Linked DNA regions of Homo sapiens: region 2 is linked to region 1. The links are contacts of gene promoters, found by promoter capture Hi-C in blood cells and fetal thymus (Javierre and others, 2016). All regions are on one chromosome and are shown on one strand. The core of a region is centred on a gene start or on the middle of the fragment in contact, and the rest is flanking DNA. Distances in the headings are between cores, read along the strand shown. Region 1 holds the start of SCFD2 (sec1 family domain containing 2). Region 2 holds the start of ANKRD17 (ankyrin repeat domain 17).

Region 1 (5,520 bases), core at 1,680-4,179:
AGTCTTAGGGGAGGGTACAAAATTATGTGAACTTCCCAGTTGATTATGAAACAACTTTGCTACATTTTTGGCATAAAGAGATAGAAGTAACAGTAATATATAGCATCCACAAAAAAACTCAACAAGCATCTACTTATCAGGTTTTATCTTTTAATCCCCTATGGACTCTGTGATGCTACAGTTATTACTTATATATTTAAATCACAGACTGGACACCTGGTTTTTCCAGTCACATAATTAAGTTTACATCTCAGTATTACCATTTAGCCTACTTTCCATTTTTTATCTGAAAATTAATCTTATTAAGATTAAAAACTCAAATATACCTATTTCGTTTTTTATAACTTAATTCAACTTTTTTTCTGACCGATTAAAGGGAATGCCTACCAATGTCAGTTTTCCGATTATTCTCCCTGGACTTGGAAGTGGCTAGGCTATATTACTAACAGTATTATACAACCTAATTAGAGAACAATAAAGTTGACCTTTGAAAATAACATATCAAACATCAGAAAGTGTCTTTTCTTCATCTGCTTTAAGGATTACATTTGTTTCTTTTGTGTAAATAATACATTATTACAATTTGAGATTATTTACTTAATCTTTAATACAATGAGAGCTAAAAATAAATCAATAAACATTTGAAAATATTTTCTACAATTCTATTTCATCTCATTTACTAGTAACATTTAAGTTCAGCCTCACTTTTGAACACTCATTTCCTAAACCTCAATTGTCTGTAATAATTTTATGTTTTCTTGTGCAGTAGTTTTCCTTCCGCTGGGTCATCTATTAACACTTCTCCAACAAACCAGAGTCTTCTTATGAAGGACTGTTGTGAATACTGGCATTCGTAAATTTCTAAAAATAAAATTTCCCAGGTGCACAGTTTTCCTCCCTGTCAGCATAATCTTGGGCTAAAGTTGTTGTTTAACAAGGCAATGGGCATTTATGACATTTCTACCCATTACAGCATTTAACAAATGTTATTGTAATTGCTAATTCACCTGTCTGTATTCCACTTTAGACAATAAACTCTGTGAGATTAGAGACCGTGTCCATCTAGTTCATCTTTGTATCCTCAATCTAATATATAATAAAAGGTCAATAAAATATATGCTGAATCAATGAAAGTCCCAGCAATGTGGGGAATGGTAATGAAGAACTCCAGAGCAATGCACTTACCTGTGAGATCCAGGGTTCTGTCCACAAAAACCACTGATGCCCTGCCTGCAGCAGTCTTCTTCCTGTTCTTTGCAGGGGCATAATTGGCCAGATCCGCAGCGATGACCTGACTTAAGGAACCTACAGCAAAACACTCCTCCCGTACTCCTAAATGTTCACACAGAGAACTGAGGCCTGACACTAGGCATCTGATCTGCAGCAGCAGCTCTGGGGTTAGCGTAGTGGAGTCCACATCACCCAGGCTTCCCAGCTTCCTCTTGTCCGGTCGGGCGCTATTAAGGAGGTGCACATCCTGGGGTAGCAGTGGGAAAAGGGATGCAAAAGCTGGAGTCAAGGCAAAGTGGGGAGCAACAGGGGCAAGCAATAACGGGACATGGAACACCTCGGCCGTGTAGTTCATGTTGCCCATCCATTCACACAGCTTCTCCTCCAGCTGCTCGAACACCGGCTGCTGCCCCTCCATCTCGGCCGCTGCCGCCGCTGGGACATGATTAGCTGTGAGGTGGACAGCGTGGCTCACGGTTGTGACCACCACACAATACTGGAAGTGACTGCGGCAGATGATGTCCCGTAGGATCTCCACGGTCCGGCCTTTCAGCAGGCAGCTCAGCACAAACACTGCCTTGGGCTGCTTGGCTCCACCACCAATTGCGTCGGGCTCGAACTCTCGCAGGTGACAGTCAGGACCCCCCACCGCCTCCAGGAGACGGGTGGATCCGCAGCCCCAGTGCAGGCTCTCGGCGCAGGCGGCGTCCAGGTAAACCACAGCCCGTTTCACTTTGGCCAGCACCTGCTCCCATCCTTGCTGGGTAAAGGACAGTACGCCCGAGGCGCTCATGGTTGGGGATTCGCAGACTTGGGAAACTACGGTGCAGGAACTTCTTTCAGAACTCACCGCTTCCGGAAATTGGGCTCCGGGAGACTTTGACAGTCTCCACAGTACACGTGGTCGGCCTCTGACACGCTCCCTGATGGCGCTCGGTGATGACGTTAAACTGAGCGGTGATTGGCTAGAGAGGAGGCCGGGAGTGAGGAAGGATGGCGCGGTCGGGAAAGAAGTGGGTGGGGCTCTGTGGCTCCGGGCTTCCTCAAAAGCTCGTGGAGATCAGGTGTTTCCTGAGATGGAGCTGAACTGAGTTCTTTCCGTCGCTCGGCCTGTCTGCGCAGATAATCTTCTCAGATAATCTTCTCATGTTCCTTGAAAAGTCTCCGAAATAAAAACCTAATCCGAAATTTGGTATCTTCCTTAGATATGAACACGTCTCCAAAAGTACAGCCACCTTCTCAATCTAAACTCAGAGCAACTAGAAAAAGATAATAAAAACAACCGTGTGCAATATTTTGGGTTTATAGATTGCTGTCACATACGTTATCGCCCACAAGCCTCATAACAAACCCTGTTGTTCTCATTTTCACTTTCTCCATCTTTCCTCCCTCATCTCATCGTCACTACATCTTATAGGCTTAAAAACTCTCAGAATTCAGCCCTTCCTCTCCATTTTTGCTGTCACAAAAACCCAACATCATCGCTCACCCAGGCAATGATCTCCCAACATTTTCTGACTTTTGATCTCTTTACCCTCCAATTCTATTTTCTTCCTAATAAACAAAGTTGGTCCTACAACTTTCCTGCTTAAAAGCTTCTCCTAGCCCAGTTGCCTATAGGATACATCCACACTCTTTAAAAAGCATCAACATCCTTCTTGATTTCTCAATTTCTCTCCAGCTATTCCCAACATGGAGAAAAATTGTACCGATACAATGAAGTCAATAGGCTGAACCCAAAATGTTTTATGGGTTCTGTTTGTTCCACCAATATACTTACATTACTAAGTATAATCTCTGTGCTAAGCTTCAAAGATGCAATGGTTAATAAAATTCATTACCTAATCCACAAAGAATTTACCTGGTAAACTTACCGAAAATAATCATTCCAACAGTACTGCCTGTGAGAGACTTTTTCTAACTCACCACCACTATCACCCTATCACCTCTCACTTCCCCCACCTATCAAACCACTCAATTGATACATTCGCTAAGTACTTGCCATATCATGGGGTAAGTATTAACACTATTTTCTTTAAACTATCTGTTTTGCTAAATTATGCACTAGATGCTTGGTATCCCCAACACTTATAACAGGTGTTCAATAAATGTTCGTTGAATGAATGTTCAATTAATATCCATGGCCAGGCGCGGTGGCTCATGCCTGTAATCCCAACACTTTGGGAGGCCGAGGTGGGCAGATCACCTGAGGTCAGGGGCTCAAGACCAGCTTGGCCAACATGGTGAAGCTCCGTCTCTACTAAAAGTACAAAAAATAGCTGGACATGGTGGCAGGTACCTGTAATCCCAGCTACTCGGGAGGTTGAGGCAGGAGAATCACTTGAACCCAGGAGGGAGAGGTTGCAGTGAGCCAAGATGGCACCACTGCACTCCAGCCTGGGCGACAGAGCGAGACTCTGTCTCAAAAAAAAAAAAAATTCCACATAATAATATATCCAGCCAATTTTTAATAAATACGTACAGTATTCCAAACACTGTCTGGGTTTTAAGGATATAAAGAAAACTAAACCACAGCCCTGATTTCAAAATAATTATGATGAAATAAAGGGACCCACACATGTAAAACAAGTGCAATAAAATGTTACAGAAGCAAATACTTTTTAAAATTTTTTGTATAGGAGTCAAGAAGGAGGAAAAATAAATTCTAAGAGAAAAAGGAAGAAGTCAGAAAAAGCTTCATATAGGGCATGAGTTTTGACTTGCCTTCAAAGAAACCCAGGTGTTCACCAGGTGGACAGGATGGGGAGGAGGATTCTTAGCAGTCCAGGCACAGAGTGCAGCATAAACAAAGTCGTAGAGGCATAAAACAGTACAATATGTTCTCTGGAACTACAAAGGGTTTCCTATAGCTGGAGTGCATTGTATGAAAAAAGGCGCAAGAAGAAATAAGAGCAAGGAATTAGAAAAGAAAGAAATGGGCTAGATCAGCAAGAGCCTTATTTTCCATTCTAAGTAGTAGCAGCCAGTGGGGAAGTATTAATGTATTTTGGGGTATGGAAATAATTTGTTCACATCTGGATTTTAGAAAAAAAATGGTTCTAGTCAAAACATGGAAAATAATTTGAAATGGAGCAATTTAGCGCAGAGGGAGCAGTTAAGAAAATAATAGTATCAGCAGCAAATCTGGGTGAGAGAGTTGAAAAGCGTAACAAGCAGATGGACAGAGTGGGGAGTATGAATAGACGTTAAGAATATAGTGCCAAAGGGCTTGCTTATTAGTTTGACAGAGAGGGTGACACGGAAGGAGAATTTCAGGTTAGCACCCAGCTTTCTGTCTGGATGACTGATGAATGCCAGTCATTGAGATTTGAAAAACCATTAAGAGAAGCAGATTGCGGAATAAATACAGAGTTTAGTGGGGACATATTTTTGTTTGTTTGTTTCCTTATGGCAAGATAAGTGTAACATAAAAGTCACACCATCTTAACCATTGTAAAATGTACATTTTGGTGGCATTAAGTACATTCACATTGTTGTATAACCAATCTCTGAACTTCTTGTCTCACAAAACTGAAACCCTGTACCCATTAAACAACAACTCCCCATTCCCCCTCTCCACAGTCCTTGGTGACTTCCACTCTACTTTCTGTTTCTATGAGTTGACTACTCTAGTTGTTGGCAATGTAGTAGTTGACTACTCTAGATACCTCATATAAGTGGAACAATACAGTATTTGTTTTGTTGTGATTGACTTATTTCACTTAGCATAAAGTCCTCCAAGTTAATCTATATTGTAACGTGCATCAGAATTTTCTTTCTTTTTGAGGCTGAATAACATTCCATTGTATGTTACACCATTTTGTTTATCCATTCATCTGCCTATGGACATTTGGTCTGCTTCCACCTTTTAGCTATTGTGAATAATGGCACCTTGAATATGCAGCAGAAGAGTCATAAACCTGGTAGAACCTAGTAGGTAAAAGGGCCAATGACAGACCCAAGTTCAAATGTTGAACTAGTAAACAAGAAGATATTCCTACATGTTTGTATCCTTGTCAGCATGAAAATTATTTTAAGGAGCTTAAGTTGAATAAGTTGTTGGATGACAGCCCTTGCTCTTCCATTTAAACCCAGGTCAGTGCCTAGTTACTAACACCTGCATTAATCTTGATCTCAAGCTCACTTTTTGTTTCTACCCCTTGCATCTCATGCTGAATCATACATTCATTAGGTAAGTTTGAGTGAATTAATACTTCATCTTCTCTGAAAGGGCAAGGCACTCATGAAGTCATGGTTGAATATTGTGCCAGTAAGTGCTAGTGGTCGCCT
Region 2 (5,520 bases), core at 1,775-4,274, about 20 Mb after region 1:
ACTGCAATGGTGCAATCTCAGCTCACTGCAACCTCCACCTCCCGGGTTCAAGCAATTCTCCTGCCTCAGCCTCCCAAGTAGCTGAGATTACAGGCATCTGCCACCACACTCGGCTAATTTTTTTGTATTTTTAGTAGAGATGGGGTTTCACCATGTTGGCCAGGCTGGTCTCAAACTCCTGACCTCAGGTGATCCGCCCGCCTCGGTCTCCCAAAGTGCTGGGATTACAGGCGTGAGCTACCACGCCCGGCCAATGGGCACACTTTCTTACACGTATTTCTCCTGACTCATCTTCATAAATGACAAACCCATTGTTTAACACCATGTAAAAGACAGGATAAGGTATGTTAAAAACATAGAAATACTACCATAGTTGGTGAAAGTCAACATAACCATTCCTATATTACAAAAGGAAAACAAACCTGACCCACAAAATAAACATACCTACAAACTTACAGCCATTCTTCATGATTTAAGGAATTACTAAAAGTTCTGCTTATTAGGCCGCATTCCAATGGACAAAACTACCTAGGTATGTTAAGTTTGCAGCAGAATATCCCAGTAAGTACTGCATTCAACTATCATAACCTTGCTCTAAACCAGAGCTTAATAGTTTCACGAGAATTTAAAATTTTAAGTAATGGTATTTTGCCTATAGCTGCATGATTGTGTTACCTTGCTATTCAGTAACTATTTTTCTGAATGATATCAGGAGGGTGATAAAAGGAAATAAATTATTATTAAAAAGTGTACAGGTCTGAGACATTAGAAAACTTTGATTTGTACTTTTGCTACTACCCACCACAACCACTTTCCTCTAAACCTTGTTTTCCTCCTTTTTAAAATAAAGGGCTGAATTACCTGTAAAATGTTTCTCACCTTTGAGAAGAATCATACAATTGAATGATTCTAAGTACCATAACAAATTTTATTAGGGATAAGGACCCCATTACATCTTTCTCTTCCTTGTTTCAAATGCCGCCAGAGCAACACACTATCCTAAACATCCAAGTAGGCCAATATAAGTCTATCAATACAAACCTATTCTCAGAATCCAACAGGCTAAAAGGGAATAAAAACAAGGACTGGCATATTTTTGTCATACATACTTCAGCACTTAATATCTCTACCTATACAACTTCATCCAGTCTGAGATAAAAGAGAATCTGGTCTTCTACAAATAGACATGTGTCAAATCCTTTAAAAGGTACTTCTCTATTTCAACAGAGACCAGGATTCAATAATTCCAATTTTCGGAAAACCAGACTTGCATCAAAATAAGTTCCATGTTTGTGGAAGAGAATAAATAGTAAGTGGTACTTTTAGATGAATCACTTGGTCTCCTCTTAGAACTAAGTTTAAAATCAGCCTTTAAAGCTGTTTTCCCTCTGCTGATAAAGATTTCCCTCTCCAAATAAAGATTTTTCTAGATTCTATTTCAGGAAGGAGACAAGAGAGTGGTAAAACAGCTAATAACTAGTAAAGCTAACTCTCAGTTGGTTGTCAGTATGGTATGTTTTACTGAGCCTTTGGGTTGTAAGGGCTTCTGTGAGGAATAAGGTCCTGCAACGCCGCCTGTCTGTGGACCCAGGAAAAATTATAAAGTTATTATGAAACCAGATCACTAGGACAAACCGAGAGGCCTTCCTATTCCAACTCACCACAACCAGGCCTGGCTCCAAAGCCTACCCTTTGGCTGTCCCATATTACGGGACAACAGGTCCTAGCTTAATTCTAACTCACTAAGGAAACATTCGAAGGCATGTATGTATGTACGTGTAAGGATCAAATATATTTTTCATCCACTTACAAATGTATATGGTCATTTGTAATTATTTAAAGTTACTGATAAATTTATACAAATACAGCATCAGTTCATCGAAAATCCCTGGGAGATCGAGGAAATGAAGTTACTTCAGCAGCCAGGATAGTTACGAAAAACCCTGCAGAACAGTATGGAAAAGTACAGCTTCTCACGTGTCCCTCACATACACAAACACTTAGCTCTGAGTCCATTACAACCTTACGTCCCCCCTCAAACTGCTCCCCTCCACCTCACAACTGGGAGAAGTTGATCAACCTCCTAGTTGGTCCCCAAGAGACTCATTTACCCATTATTTTACTCCTCCCGCTTTGATCCCGATCCCGCCTCAGACTAAGGTGGCCCTACTGGCCCCAGGCAGACCACCCCCCCACCCCCCGGCGTGCAAACAGGGAATCTAACCAATTCCCTCCATCCTTAACCAAGTGAGCCATCCCATGATAACAGGCTGTTCACCAACTCTGTGAACTCCGTGGTCCTCCCACCCCCACGTGTCAGCTACCCTCCCCCACATTCCCACACCTCACGATTTAGGCCGAGGGAAGAAAGGGGGCAGTCGAAAGCCTGGCCCCTAAGAGATCAACCCACTGGAATCTGTCCCACTCCAAATCCCCTCCCACCTTCGGCCCCTATCCCTTACAGTCCCTTCCTCCCTCCTTCCTTTGAAACCAGGCCCTTGCCTCAGAAACCTCCTCTTCCTCGTCGTCGTCGTCCTCTTCTTCCTCGCTGTTGTTACTGCTGGTGCCGCCGCCGCCACCTCCGCCTCCACCGCCGCCTCCACCGCCGCCGCTGTTGTCGCTGTCGCTGCTGCTTTCGCTGCTGCTGGGGGGTCGGCAAGTCCGGTTACGCTTGGCCTTGTGGTGCTGCTGCTGCGGCGGCTTCTTCTTCAGGAGCAGGTCGCAGACTCGCACCATCCCACGAGGAGACGAGGCCGAGCGAGCTCTGCTGCTGCCGCCAACGCCGCCGCCGACCTCCGCCGCCGCGGGGGGGCCCGCCACAGCCGCCACCGCCGGGGGGCTCCCTTCTCCTTCTGCAGCCGTCGCCGCCGCCACCGGAACCGTCGCCTTCTCCATCCCCAGGGAAAGAGGGAGGGCGCGGACGGGGGAGGGGCGTGGGGCTACGCTCTACCGCGACTTCGGCCGCACTGGGGCCGACACAGCAATCGGTGCCGCCTCCGCCGCCACCGCCTCGGTCACCTCTACTGCCGCCGCCGCCGCCGCCGCTCCGCCAGCTCTCACCTCGTCTCGCGATACTAAGGGCGGGGAGCCTGACGATGGGAGGGAGGGAGGGAGGGAGAGGGAGGGAGCAAGGGAAGGAGGGTGAGGCGTAACAGGGAGACCGGGTGTCGGGAGAACCAGAGGAGAGGAGACTGGAAAGAAGCGGGGAAGTGTGCCTGGGGCAGCTTCCGAAGGGGAACGGCGGGGACAGATGAGGGGGGCGCGATTGCAACCAGAGCGCCCGCGAGCTCCCGGATTTCTTCTCTTTCCTCGCTATTTCCCGCACACACAGCCCTGCAGCCCTCCCTTCTTCCTTCCTGGCTTGTGATTAGAACGCAGCCGCAGGCGGAAGTGCAGTGACGCCATCAGCCGTCGCCTGAGCCGTGGCGCGCGGGTGGCCGAAAGGCGAAAGTGAGATTTCAAGGGCCGGGTCTGGGGCCCCGCGGGCGCGCAGTGCTGCGGCGTGTGGGGAGTACGGGGAGGCTGGAGAGGAGCCGGCCCCGGGCAGTGTGAGGTGCGGAAGCGCGGTCCAGACACTTTGCTGACGGGAGGCCGGTCCGCCAGATCCGGGAGGTGGGGCCTCGTTCTGGACTGCTGTACGTAGTTTTATTCCTGGTCATTTTTTTCCACCGCCAAATCGAGAGATAGAGCTTTGGATCATGAGAGATGGCGTCGTGTTGGGAAAAGAGCCTTCTTTACCTGAGTTTAAGCTCGGCTCATAGACATCCTCTACCTGAGTTTACACGTGTGTAATATGAAGGCAGTCGATTAGGAGATGTCTAAGATCATTACTTACACCTCAAGTTTCCAAGGGGAGGAAGACACGGGAAGGATGCGTGGTCTGTGCCAGACTTTGTAGACGATTCACTGAATGACCCTGATTTAGCTCTTCCGGCCCTCTTCGATTCAGCTTGGAAGCAAGCATAAATAGTGATTGTTGTCTGTATACTTCTCTCGGAAGGAATGCTGTTATGGGAGTTGTGGGTTCATTTTTAGGTGTCTGAAGAAGTTTCAGGACTTTTGAAATGATAGTGGAGCCCATTGAACTCAGAATTATCCCTTTCTGGTCTAGTAGGAGTATAGTGGCATACGGAAAATGAAGCAAACATCAAAGACAGATGTACTGGCACAAGATTAAAAGTATGTCTCAGCTGACATAGTTGCCATTTTAAGACTGCTTAGTTTAGCTGAATATGCCTGGATTTTTTTTTTTTTTAGCATTTTTTTTCTTTTTAGCATTGGCATACCATATGAAATGTGGGCAGTTGCCAGTACTCTACAGAGTACCAAGGCAGAATTGGCAATGACTAAATCAATTCATTCAAACAAAAATTCATCATGTGCCTACTGTGCGCATAATTTGTGGAATCAAAGTCTCTTGTTTCCAGGGGCTTTACAGTGTAATAAGTGCTATAGTAAATATATATACGGAGTGGTAACCATCTGCCTATTCCTCTCCTACAGTCGTTGCTGAGTTCCAGTGTAGAACAGAGCACTGCATTGTGTATCTCACCACTACTGATTTAGATTTTATAATTTCAGCTGCATCCCTCCCTCCTACTTTGTATATTCTTCAGCATCTTTTTCTCCCTTTCCACTTGAATACTTTTCGCAATCTTTAAATCCCAGCCCATTTTATTATATGACTTTTAACTTAGACTTCACAATTTTCCAAGTGCTAGAAATTTCCTGAGATTGCCTTTTCTCCAGTATCAACGAATGAGAGACTCCCTGTTCATATATGAGATAAACTCTTCATACATATTCTAGTTCCAATACCCCTCTTTCTCATGCATTTATTATCTTTTCTGTTGTCAACCTTCTACAAATTCTGGTTCCTTAGCTAATTCTTCTGTAGCTTTCAATTATTTCCTTCACAAGCAAACTTTCTTTCTTTAAAAAGTATTCTATACTCAGGAGGCTGAAGCAGGAGAATCGCTTGAACCTGCGAGGCGGAGTTTGCAGTGAGCTGAGATCCTGCTACTGCACTCTAGCTTGGGCGACAGAGCGAGACTCCATCTCAAAAAAAAAGTGTCTACAATCAGTGTCTTTTTTGTTTTCTGAAATTGACTTGTCAGCCCTCTGCAGTCTAGTCTCTGTGTCTATCGTGCTGTGCTACCAAAAATGCTCTCTTTAAAGTAATCTCATTGTTTGGAAGAAAATGAGTTTTTTGTTCTTTAATATAATAGTGAAATGATGATCCTGTTTCACTAGTAGGATAAGGTTCAAAACTATTAAAATGGACAAGGCATGTAAAGTCACTTTCTTTTATTTTTATCTTTTTTTCCCCCCGTTAGAACCTCTGGCAGGGACTGACTAGCCCATGAAACTTATTTCTTCTTCCCGGGCACACAGCTAAACTAAATTTCACAGCTTTCCTTGTAGTTGGTTATAGTCATGTGATGAACTTCTTTTTTTGAGACAGAGTTTAGCTCTTGTTGCTCAGGCTGGAATGCAATGGCACAATCTCAGCTCACCGCA

The links. Contacts are between HindIII fragments. The CHiCAGO score rates a contact against its expected background, and 5 or more counts as called.
Region 2: the fragment with the promoter of ANKRD17 here is called in contact with a fragment that was not itself captured in region 1 in 1 of 17 cell types (total CD4 T cells); the score reaches 6.8 in total CD4 T cells.

Annotation. Positions count from the first base shown.
Region 1 is chr4:53,363,919-53,369,438 of GRCh38, forward strand. SCFD2 (sec1 family domain containing 2) reads right to left here and starts at 2,143. Exons shown (of 9, transcript NM_152540.4): 1 at 1,186-2,143. The coding sequence starts at 2,023. RefSeq lists enhancers at 1,569-1,618, 1,839-2,038, 2,059-2,108. The HindIII fragment of the contact is 212 bases long and covers 2,824-3,035 here.
Region 2 is chr4:73,255,774-73,261,293 of GRCh38, forward strand. ANKRD17 (ankyrin repeat domain 17) reads right to left here and starts at 3,025. Exons shown (of 34, transcript NM_032217.5): 1 at 2,503-3,025. The coding sequence starts at 2,895. ANKRD17-DT (ANKRD17 divergent transcript) reads left to right here and starts at 3,393. Exons shown (of 5, transcript NR_187399.1): 1 at 3,393-3,635. RefSeq lists enhancers at 177-677, 3,078-3,674, 3,277-3,546 and a silencer at 2,717-3,116. The HindIII fragment of the contact is 8,436 bases long and covers 1-5,520 here.